Linked DNA regions of Homo sapiens: region 1 is linked to region 2. Evidence: promoter capture Hi-C in human tissues and cell types (Jung and others, 2019). All regions are on one chromosome and are shown on one strand. The core of a region is centred on a gene start or on the middle of the fragment in contact, and the rest is flanking DNA. Distances in the headings are between cores, read along the strand shown. Region 1 holds the start of DLGAP5 (DLG associated protein 5). Region 2 has its middle 100 kb from the start of TMEM260.

The links. The method cuts DNA at HindIII sites, captures the fragments that hold promoters and counts their contacts. A contact is called where the count stands out against the background at its distance.
Region 1: the fragment with the promoter of DLGAP5 here is called in contact with a fragment that was not itself captured in region 2 in 1 of the 25 tissues and cell types used here (mesenchymal stem cells).

Annotation. Positions count from the first base shown.
Region 1 is chr14:55,188,739-55,194,504 of GRCh38, forward strand. It overlaps DLGAP5 (DLG associated protein 5), which reads right to left and starts at 2,847. Exons shown (of 19, transcript NM_014750.5): 1 at 2,725-2,847; 2 at 204-442. The coding sequence starts at 441. It overlaps LOC105370508 (a long non-coding RNA gene), which reads left to right and starts at 2,935. Exons shown (of 2, transcript XR_943888.3): 1 at 2,935-3,064. RefSeq lists enhancers at 2,037-2,590, 2,591-3,143. The HindIII fragment of the contact is 18,393 bases long and covers 1-5,766 here.
Region 2 is chr14:56,476,543-56,481,785 of GRCh38, forward strand. No RefSeq gene overlaps it. Among named protein-coding and RNA genes, the nearest start is that of TMEM260, 100 kb to the right of the region's middle. The HindIII fragment of the contact is 5,960 bases long and covers 157-5,243 here.

The sequences.
Region 1 (5,766 bases), core at 1,597-4,096, 1.3 Mb before region 2:
CCCGCCTGGGTGACACAGTGAGACCCTGTCTCTTGTAATTTAAAAAAAAAAAAAAAAAAAAAAGGAAAAAGACCAAAAAGGAAAGTTATTTATAGAATGGTATTTCAAAACTCTTCTGGCCAGAGTTTTTTACTCACACAGGCATTAAACCAACTATTATTCACTCTTCAAAGTACTTAAAATTACAACAGACCTTTACTTACTTGGCTTAACATTGGTCTTTTCTGGAACAAGCCCTTGAGATGTCTCATCTAATTCAACAAGAATTCTACCTTCCAAGGTTGGAATGTTTACATCTTTCAAACCAAAGTGTCTATTTCGTTCGTATTCCTTATGTCTATTTTCTTTCTGAGACAGTGATTTCCTATGAGCAATTTTAGTTCTAATCATTTCAGTACTTATATCCTTCCTGTGTCGACTGGCAAAATGTGATGAAGACATCCTGTCAAGGAAAAGGACAAAACCCAACTTACATGAATTTTCATTATTTAAAAAATTAAGATTACAGTTCATTTCCTGTCCCACTTCAGGGCCTTCTGAAATAAAAATATAAAATGTGCAATGAAATAAATATGTAACACTGAAAAGTGAGAAGAAGATTATCAGAGAATAAGAAGCTACCTATTTGGGGGTTTTAAATAGGAACTTGCTTGACCAGTGAAGAGAAAGCCAGTAAGTGATAGTCCAGAATAAAAGAGGCTCTGGGCTTACCACAGAGAACACTGCAAAAAGAAAAGCGTGAAATAAAGGTGAAAATAGGTTAAGTGAAGGACCATGTACACAAGGGTTTCCTTACCCATGATGAGGAATGCAGGTAGTCTAACATTTCTTCTAAAGCCAAAAGAAAACCAAAAACAAACAAAAACCCCACACCAGGTACCTATTAGTCATATAGGGATAATCAATAGGCAACCGGATACAGATAGAGTTGGATAGAGAGGCACAGGGCAAAGTATGTGGAAAGGAACAAGGAGCTTCCATGCTCTCTCAGGTAGCACCACTGTTTAGGAACCTTCATGTATTCACCTAAGAAGCTCTCCAAACACAGGTGTTTTTTTTTGGTTTTTATGGCAGCTTCATTACATAAGCATGAGTGATTAAATCATTGACCACTGGTGATCAAGTCAACCTTCAGCTCCTCTCCCCTCCCCAGAGGTTGTGAGGTGGGGCTGAAAATGCCAACTCTCGAGAAATCCTGCCTTGGTCTGTCTAGTGACCAGCCCCAATCCTGAAGCTATTTAGAGGCATCCAGCTATCAGTCAATCATTAGCATACAAAAAGGTACCACTTTGAAGACTCCAAGGATTTTAGTAGTTGTTTGCCAGAAAACAGAACAAGACCAAATATATAGTTCACAATAACCCTATCAGTTTGCTCCATTATTTTCATCCATACAAGAAATCATACAGTTTAGGCCGGCACGGTGGCTTAGGCCTGTAATCCTACCACTTTGGGAGGTCGAGGCAGGACTGCTTGAGCCCAGGAGTTTGAGACCAGCCTGGGCAACATAACACGACCCCGTCTCTATAAATTTTAAAAAAGAAAAGCCATACACACACACACACACACACACACACGCACAAAATCATATAGTTTAATTGGCACATGCCTTTTTCTTGGAAAGATCTTTGAGAATGTATTCAAGCAAAACAAAAGAGGACAATAAAGACGACGTCAGTAGATCCAACTAGGGAGAACAAAGAAAATTAGAAAGTTTGAGGGGGTCACCTGTGTAGCTGGTATAGAGAACTACCAAGCCAAACTGGAGAAAGGATACTGATTCTCAGAAGTCTTGGCAGTTAAAAAACAAAAACAAAAAAAGGTAAGGGGGAGGCTCTGTGATAGACACACTATGGTATATTCTTCAACAAGAATTAACTAAATCCACTAGAAAACTCCAGATAATAGAAAAATTGGCACAAGTAATGCAATACATTGTTACATGATTCTAAGCAATCAACAAAATATAAAAAACGAGAATCTGTCTGACCTGCATGCTAATAACATTCTCCTCTAAGACCCAAGGAAAGTGACAATGGACTGTGCTTTTCATAAAGAACTGTCTTCTACTATTTATCTCCTGCAATATTAATTCGCTAAAGATTGAAGAAAAATTAAGACTTATGTATTAAATACAGGATAGCACTATCCACAGCAAGAGAAAGAGCGAGCGAGGACAACATTAAAGGTACAATTATCAGAATAACCCTGAAAGGTAGTTAACTATTATCGCTCTCATACAGATGAGGTCAATTAACTGCTCACATTAGCATATCTAAAAGGTGGTGAAGCTGGGATCCCAAGCAAGGCAGCCCTGGCTCCACACACACCTAAATTTTGTTTGGCTGAGTGGCGTTTCCTCCAGCTTGAAAGTCCAGAATGCGTTAATCTTGCTTGACTAGAGGTTCTCAACCGGGCGTTTTTAGTTGCCATGGGACCTGGGAAGAGCTACGGGAATTTAATGTCGGAGCTAGTGAAGAACAGTTTCACCCCAAAGGTCAATTACGCCCCGGTGGTGAAACGCTGACTATTACAGAGGTCAGGGCAAACATATGGACTCTTCTAAAGGCTCGCATTATCAGCTTCGGGAAGGGCAGGTAACACGGTCCTAAAGGAGCCTGCCTCTGACTTGCTCCCGCTCGCAGCCCCCGGTCCTCAGACCCTTCTAGACCTTCAACGGAAGCGGGCCAGTGTTCTCCGTCCAGCTCTCCAGCACCCACCTACCTGAGCCACCTTCTAGCGTGAAACCTCAACCAAACAAAAAGTAAAGAACACTCGGTCTGGACGACCACCGCCGACTCCGAAGCAGGAACCCTCACAACCCGAGCCTCCACGAAATTCAAACTTGCCGCACCGAGCCGCTGATTGGAGGGGCTTTAACCAACACTTCCGGGGAAGATCCCACCCCTTCCACTCAACGAGGCTTGCGATTGGTTTGCTCCGTGCGATATTTGAATTGATTGAAAGGTGAAGGGCCAGTTCAAAAGATGGGTGAGAGAGGGAAAATAGGCGGGACCGCGACGCGGGATGAGAAGGAGTGGAGCAGTCGGGGCGCTCACGTCAGGTGAAGGGCGGGAGTGGGCGGTGGAGCCCGAGGGGTGAGGCTGGGTCCCTGGCAAAGCTGGGCTGCGGGAAATCTCCCCCAGAGCTCGCAAGGCTTTTTTTTTTTTTCTTTTTTCTTTTTTTTGAGACAAGGTCTCTGTCCCTTAGGCTGGAGTATAGTGGGCACCGACCACTGCTCACTGCAGCCTTGAGCTGCTGTGTTCAAACCATCCTCCCACCTCAGCCTCCCGAGTAGCTGGGACTATAGGCGCGCACCACTACGCCTGGCTAACTTTAAAAAAATTCCGTAGAGACAGGGCCTCACTACGTTGACCAAGCTGGATTCAGGGCTTTTTAATGTCCTTGTTTAGTCACAGAATCTAGCAGACCTTCTTGGAATGTTTTCTTTACTAGACGTTTTAAAGAAAAGGCTTACCCCAATTATCAAATCCTTACATAGTTTAGCGTTACTTTTCAACGTCGCCAGCCCCCCTCCCCTTTTTTTTCTTTTTTAGTTCATTTTTTGTTGAGGCGAAGTTTTCGTATACAGTGAAAATAATAGTTTTTCCCCCCCAGTGGACAATTTGATGAGTTTGGTAAATGTAAACAGCTGTGTAACTACCACCCAATCAGGACGTAGAGCATTTCCATCACTCAGAAGAGTGGCCTGTTTCTTTCCTGTCCATCTCCCACCACATCAGCAACCACTCCTCTTATTTCTAGCACTATAAAAATGAAGGTGATAGGTACTCTTTTGGGTCTGCGTGAACCAGAAGTTAGTAGTGTTTGTTATTGAGAGGCATTCCATTGAATACTTTATGCATTCACCAGTTGATGGATTTGTATTGCTTTCAATTTTTGGTGATGATGAGCAAAGTTGCTATAACCATTCTCGTACAAGTCCTTGTGGGCATATTTTATTTATCTTGAGGAAATACAGGAGTGGAATTTCTGGGTCATTCTGGGTATGTTTAACTTAAAATTTTTTTTTTTTTTTAGAAGCAGGGTCTCTCCGTCCCCCAGGCTAGAGAGCAGTGGCACAATCATAGCTCATTGCAGCCTTGGCCTCTTGAATAGCTGGGACTATAGGCGGGTGCCGTCACCCATGTCTAACTTTGTAAGGAATTGCCAAGCAGTTTTCCAAAGTGGTTGTACCATTTTACAATTCCCACCAGCCACATATAAGAGTTCCACTTGTTTCACATGCTTTCCAGCACGTGGGGTTGTCAGTCTCTAATGTTCACCCTTCTGGCCAGGCACTGTGGCTTGCGCTTGTAATCCCAGCACTTTGGGAGGTCAAGGCGGGGGGATCACGAGGTCAAGAGATCAAGATCACCCTGGCCAATATGGTGAAATGCCGTCTCTGCTAAAAATACAAAAATTAGCCGGGTGTGGTGGTGCGCGCCTGTAGTCCCAGCTACTCAGGAGGCTGAGGCAGGAGAATCGCTTGAATCCAGGAGGTGGAGGTTGCAGTGAGCTGAGATCGCACCACTCCACTCTGGCCTGGGTGACAGAGTGAGACTCCATCTCAAAAAAAAAAAAAAAAAAAAAGAGACTGAGAATGGTGGCTCATACCTGTAATTTCAGCACTTTGGGAGGCCAAGATGGGAGAATCAGTTGAGGCCAGGAGTTCAAGTCCAGCACTGGCAACATAGCAAGACCCCATCTCTACCAAATAATAATAATAATAATAATACAATATTAGCTGGGCATGGTGGCGCACATCTCTAGTCCCACTACTTGGGAGGCTGAAGTGGGAACATCACTGGAGCCCAGGAGTTTGAGGTTACAGTGAGCTATGATCGCACCACTGTACCCTAGCCTGGACAAAAAAGTAGGAACCTGTCTCAAAAAAAAAAAAAGAAAAGAAAACTATTCTGCTATTAAGAAACTCTGATGCATTCTTCAGCATGTCAATTATATTTTTTGACCCTAGAATTTCTGCTTCTTTTAAATTATTTCAGCTTCTTTGTTAAATTTATCTGATAGAATTCTGAATTCCTTCTCTGTGTTATGTTGATTTTCTTTGAGATTCCTCAAAACAGCTGCTTTGAATTCTCTGCCTGAAAGTTCCTATATCTATGTTTCTCCAGGATTGGTCCCTGGTTCCTTATTTAGTTCATTTCATGAGATCATGTTTCCTGGATGGTGTTAATGCTTGTAGATGTTCATTGGTGTGTGGGCATTGAAAAATTAAGTATTTATTGTAGTCTTCACAATCTGGGCTTGTTTTTGGCTGTCCTTCTTGGGAAGGCTTTCAGGGTGTTTGAAGGGACTTGTGCCCCAAGCCTAATAATGCTGTGGTTTTTTCAGACTTGTAGAGGTACCACCTTGATAGTCTTGGCAAAGATCTGGAAGAATTCTCTGAATTACAGGCAGAGACTCTTGTTCTTTTCACTCACTTGCTCCGAAATAAATGGAATGTCTCTCTCTGCTGAGCCAGCTGGAACTGAGGGTGGTGGCTCACTGTGGCCACCACCACTGGGACTGTGCTGGATCAGACCTTAAGCCAGCACCTATCATGGCAGTGAGTTCCCCTAGGCCCCGGCTGTTCCCAGAGCTGGGCTGTCTGGGAGCCAGGGATTGGAGTCAGAAATCTTAGCAATTTACCTGAAGTTCTTTTTATTATTATTATTATTATTTTTTTAAGGTGGAGTCTCTGCCGCCCAGGCTGGAGTACAATGGCGCAATCTCAGCTCACTACAACCTCTGCCTCCCAGATTC
Region 2 (5,243 bases), core at 1,887-4,386:
TGGATGGGCATGTCAAGGAAAATGATGTTTTGTAGTTTGCTCTGCCATGTATGACTGAGAAAACTAAACAAAGCAGTTGAACAGCTATGTGGATGATGTTATATTTAGAAGCTATATTGCATGTACTTTTTACTAATTTTACTAAAAATATTGCTCATTTTCATTTTCACACAGAAGCATATTGAGGATCGGATGCTATCTTTGGTCCTCAGTGTGGGGTAGCCTTGCTCACCAGAGATAGAACAATTTTGTTTTAGGGAAAATTTTCCAGTCCCACTGAACACATATTCAAAGCAGTGAGCTACACCACCTCTGTGTTTTTCCTGGCTCTTGCATGAAATAAAATACCTGCTCACAATTTCCTGTGCTGACAGATTAGGGATAAAATGTCTGAGCTCAAGGAGAAATGGGAAAACCTGCTGGATTGGATTGGTCATTTGGGAAGACTAACATAGGATACAAGGCACCCGCTTAAAACATCACCTGGCTATTTTAAAACCTTTCTGCAGGTCAATGAGCTAAATGGGAGTTCTATGTAGAGGATAAGAAACTATTCATTTCTCTCAGGCTTAGCTTTTCAGAAAAGCCCTCAAAAAAAAAAAAAAAAAAAAAAAAGTCCCTCTACTTCGAGTGCACTAAATCCTCTTGGTGACTTTGGTGAAAGAGACATGAAAGAGCTGATGAAGGCAAATGTGTTTCAGATGGAAAATAATAGCTCTTGGAAAGCAATGCCTGGTGAACATCTGGTGTCCCTTTATTCTGAATGAACATCTGTCACCCTTGGTTAATAGTTTACACCTGTTGACCCAATCAACATCCCTACTACAACCAAAGGTGAAAATACTGATGTTGAGGTCCCACCCCCTAGAGATCCTGATGGAATTTCTTGAGTTTGGCCTAAACTTTGGGATCTTTAACACTCCCTGGATAATTTTAATACGCAGCCAAGATTGAGAACCACTCTGTAAACAGGAGACTTTAATTGGATTTGGGAATATGACTTATTAATGCAAAAATTAAACTAGAGATATGAATTGTTTACAGACTTTTATCATGTGTTTAAAATATTTTAAGTGGTTCTGTTTACATTAAATTTATATCATTTTGATAGTTTTAGACAACTTTGTATTGGATTCATTGAGTCCCTGTCAATATTATAATTCATTGTTTCAGTTATAGGCACTATTAGCAAACAGAAAAATAAAAGTTATAAGTCTACATATTGCTTAAACGTCTATGCATGCAATCCTTCCTTGTGGGGCAACCTTATGATGAATTATTATGGTTACAGACAACCTGGAGTGATTGTTTAGTGTTTCATTACTTTTTTATTTTAAAATGATCTCATATAGTCGCGTTTTGTTTTTTTATCATTGGATAAATATAACTGGGTGACTAGGTGTGGATCTTTGTATAGCAAAGTGACAATTTAACTTGTAATGATAGAAATAGGATTCTAGAAAATCTGTTAAGAAGTCTGCTGGTCAAACATTATCTGAATTCAAAAGTGACTGAACCATGGAGCCAATAAACTATCCTCATGTTGGCAATACCGTGTCCTGTATCTTCAACCGTCTTTATGACTTTGGTTTAATGACTATTAAGGCATGACCACAAACCAAAGAGGAAAAAAATAACGCTGAACTCTAGTCCTAACCCAATGCAAACACATAGATCTATAACTACTCCCCCCACCCACCCATGTATCTACTCGAAAGGAAAACTCAAAAAACTATGAAAACTGTGCCTATTTGAAACCCTTTATTGGTTGTCGCTTTGTTTCATGGTGGCAGATGGGTCAAGTGGTCAACTTAAGATGCACTTTAAGATTACATTCTTCAAAATAAGCAGAAGCCAAAAAAATTTTTTTAACCTGGTGGTTTAGTAAAAACAGAGTTCACTTTATCCTTTTATTTATTCATTCATCCAAGTAGCTGCTGTGTGATAAACAAGTATGCATATCCCTCAGAGGTAGCTAAGAGAAAACCTCCAAGCCAAGAAGCTTAGTCAGGAAAGCCAGTGTTCTATCACATCTGGCCTCAAAACATTTAAAATGTCTTCATTATAAAATTGAGTATACATTTTTAAAAATCTTTAATTTTATTTATTTATTTATTTGAGGCAAGTTCTTGTTCTGTTACCCAGGCTGGAGTGTAGTGGTGTGATCATAGTTCACTTCAGCTTTGACCTCCTGGGCTCAAGCAATCCTCCTGCCTTGGCCTCCCAAGTAGCTGGGAGTACAGGCATGCACCACCATGCCTGGCTAATTTGTTATTTTTTGTAGCAATGGAGGGGGGTCTTGCCATGTTGCCTAGGCTAGACTTGAACTTCTGGCCCCAAGTCATCCTTCTTCTTTGGCCTCCCAAAGTGCTGGGATTATAGGTGTAAGTCACAATGCCTGGCCTAAAAATCTTTAAATATTTTCCACTGGCTTATTTTTACATTCGTAAGTGATATTTTCACCATAAGTCATACAGTTTCTGGGCCTCAGTTCCTCACTTGTGAAGTAATCAATCAGAGCACAAAGGCTAAGCTGCCATCAAGAGACTTAAAATCACAGTGACTTCAATGGGTAGGATGAGAGAGAGCTTAATTTCCCTTCCATGTCCCAGGCTGATCTGGCATTCTGGGATAGTTGGGCTGCTCTGTTACAGAAGGTCATCTATTGACCTGGGATGGCTAGTAGCTCTGTTATTCTCAGTGTGTGACTTCTATCTCTGAGCCCAAGGTATCTACTGTAGCTGTTGCTGCTTCCCAGCCATCAGAAAAAGGAAAGCTTGTGAAAAGCTGCTACTTTGCTGAGGAACTGACTGGAAGTTGAATGTGTCTCTTGTGCTCATATCTCATTGATTCAAATTTAATAGCATGGCGATTCTTAGCTGTAAAGGAGCTAGGGAAATGCACTGTCTTGTTGTGTGGTGTGCTCAGATAAACCTTGGAGAGTTCTATTACTACAGGGCAGAAGGGGAGAATGAATAGTGGGAGATGTTTACTAATCTCTGCCATTTGAAGGGTTGTGACTACATGATTTTTAGTATTGCATTCAGCAGTTAAATCCTGCAAATTCATGATTTTGCATGATTTTGACCAGTCTGCTCTTTAATTTTAAACCCAAAGAGTGTGTGTGTGCATGTGTGTGTGTGTGTGTGTGTGTGTGTGTGTGTGTGTGTGTTGGGCAACAGATGGAGAGTAGGGCAAACAGATGCACTATATTTCTTAATCGTCAATTAACCCAGTGCTTCTCAAACATTAATGTTCGTATAAATCACATGGAGAACGTGTTAAAATGTAGATTCTGATTCAATAAGTCTGGAGTGTGCCATGAGGTTCTGCATTTCTTACAAGCTCCTCTGATGAAGCTGATGTCGATTCTGCTGGTCCGCAGTTAACATTTAGCAAGGAGCTAACCCATCCTGATGAGAAGGCCAGTGCTAGGTGAGGCCTTTTTGGAGAAATAGACAATATAGTAAAATCTCTACTCTCTCACACTGTGCCTTTGATGAAAGTAGACAAGGGATCATCTGGGTCAGCAAAAAGCCATCATACTTTTAATTTAAAAAATGGCAACCCAAATGTTAATTTCCCACGTATTGTGAAACTTGGGAAAGATGGTGTACAATGGGCTTGTGATACTTTCTGATGCTAACTCATGTAAATTCTCAACACATGATCTACCATCTAAAAGTAAAAGTAGATCATGGAATGTTTACATGGCATTTGTTTGGACTTTGGAAGCTTTTGCCTCCATTCCTGTATGGTTTTTTTTTTTTTTTTTTTTTTTTTTGCTAATTGTTTGATTTAAAAGTGAAATCTACCATCACATCCACATAAAGAGTTAATCTCTGTTGGACATCCAAGTAAATATGACAAGCAAAAGGCCATTTAGAGTCAGGAAAGTATTTCCTTCCCTCAAAGACTTTCCTACATATTTCAACTCAACTGGACATTATTAATATCAGTAGACACATATTGAACCATACTTACCTGCCACTTATTCATTTTATAGGATAAGACAATATTTTTCTTGATATAAATTGTTACTTGTCTAATTTAGGAAGTGTTTTCACACTTTGTGTGTGATGAGACATAACACATCGAAAGAGAAAATCGTGAAGATCTTTCTGACATCTTACCATATGACATCTTCTGTCCATTTCTGGACTACAGCATCCTGTCCATTCCCTGGACTTCACACTTGAAAAGGAGCACAGTGAATTTTGAAGCAATTAGCTATTACATTGGAGGAGTCCTGATAGAGTCATTGCCTTTTGGCAAATGACTGGAGTTCAATTTTCCCATTTAAAAATAATGGAGGTATATTCTGACATGTCAATTTCCCAAGCTCTTTGGGGTAGGTCTTCCTGACCCCTTCCCCCAGAGAGTGAATAGCCCTGTGTCTAATCAACAGTTTAGGAGCATTGTCTCATGGTGAAGAGGTCAGATTTGGGGAAAGAACAAAAAAGAGAGTCGTATCAATTCTTATAATGAATATAAAAACATAGGTTCCCCTCCAATTACCATGGAGTTACATCCTGATAAACCCATCATAATTTGAAAATATGGCAAGTCAAAAATGCATTTGATACACCTTAACCTACTGCACATCATAGCTTAGGCTCACCCACCTTAAATATGTTCAGAAGACTTATATTAGCCTACAGTTGGACAAAATCATGTAACACAAATCCTATTTTATAAGAAAGTGCTATGTATCCCATGTAATGTATTGATTTCTGTACTGAAGTATGGTTTCTACTGAATGTGGGTCACTTTCACACAATCATATCGTGAAAAATCTTAAACCCTCCTAAGTCGGGGACAGTCTGTAGATGACAGTATTTGTCTTTGGGTGGAAGATTGTGAGGCATTTAGTTTAAATTTTCTGTTTCCAAATTTTAAGTATTAATATATACTACTTTTATAATCAAAGTGCAATTTAAAATAAAATATATTAGTGAATTCATTAGAAAGAAGAAAGGAAGGAAGGGAGGGATGGAGGAAGGAAGGAAAGAAGGATGAAAGATGAAAGAAAAAAAGGCTCGGAGTGGATGACCTCTACTGTTTCTCCCTGGTTTTAAAATTAATCTTAGATTAGCTATGAATTCTATGACTAGCCTGAGAATAGACAAGATGGTCATTATGGAGAATTTTAAACCTAGTTTCCAAAGTTTTATGCCAAAAAAAAATCTGAATTTAGAGAAAGAGTGCTATTTCCTCAGAGCCAAGAACATTAATCACCAAAA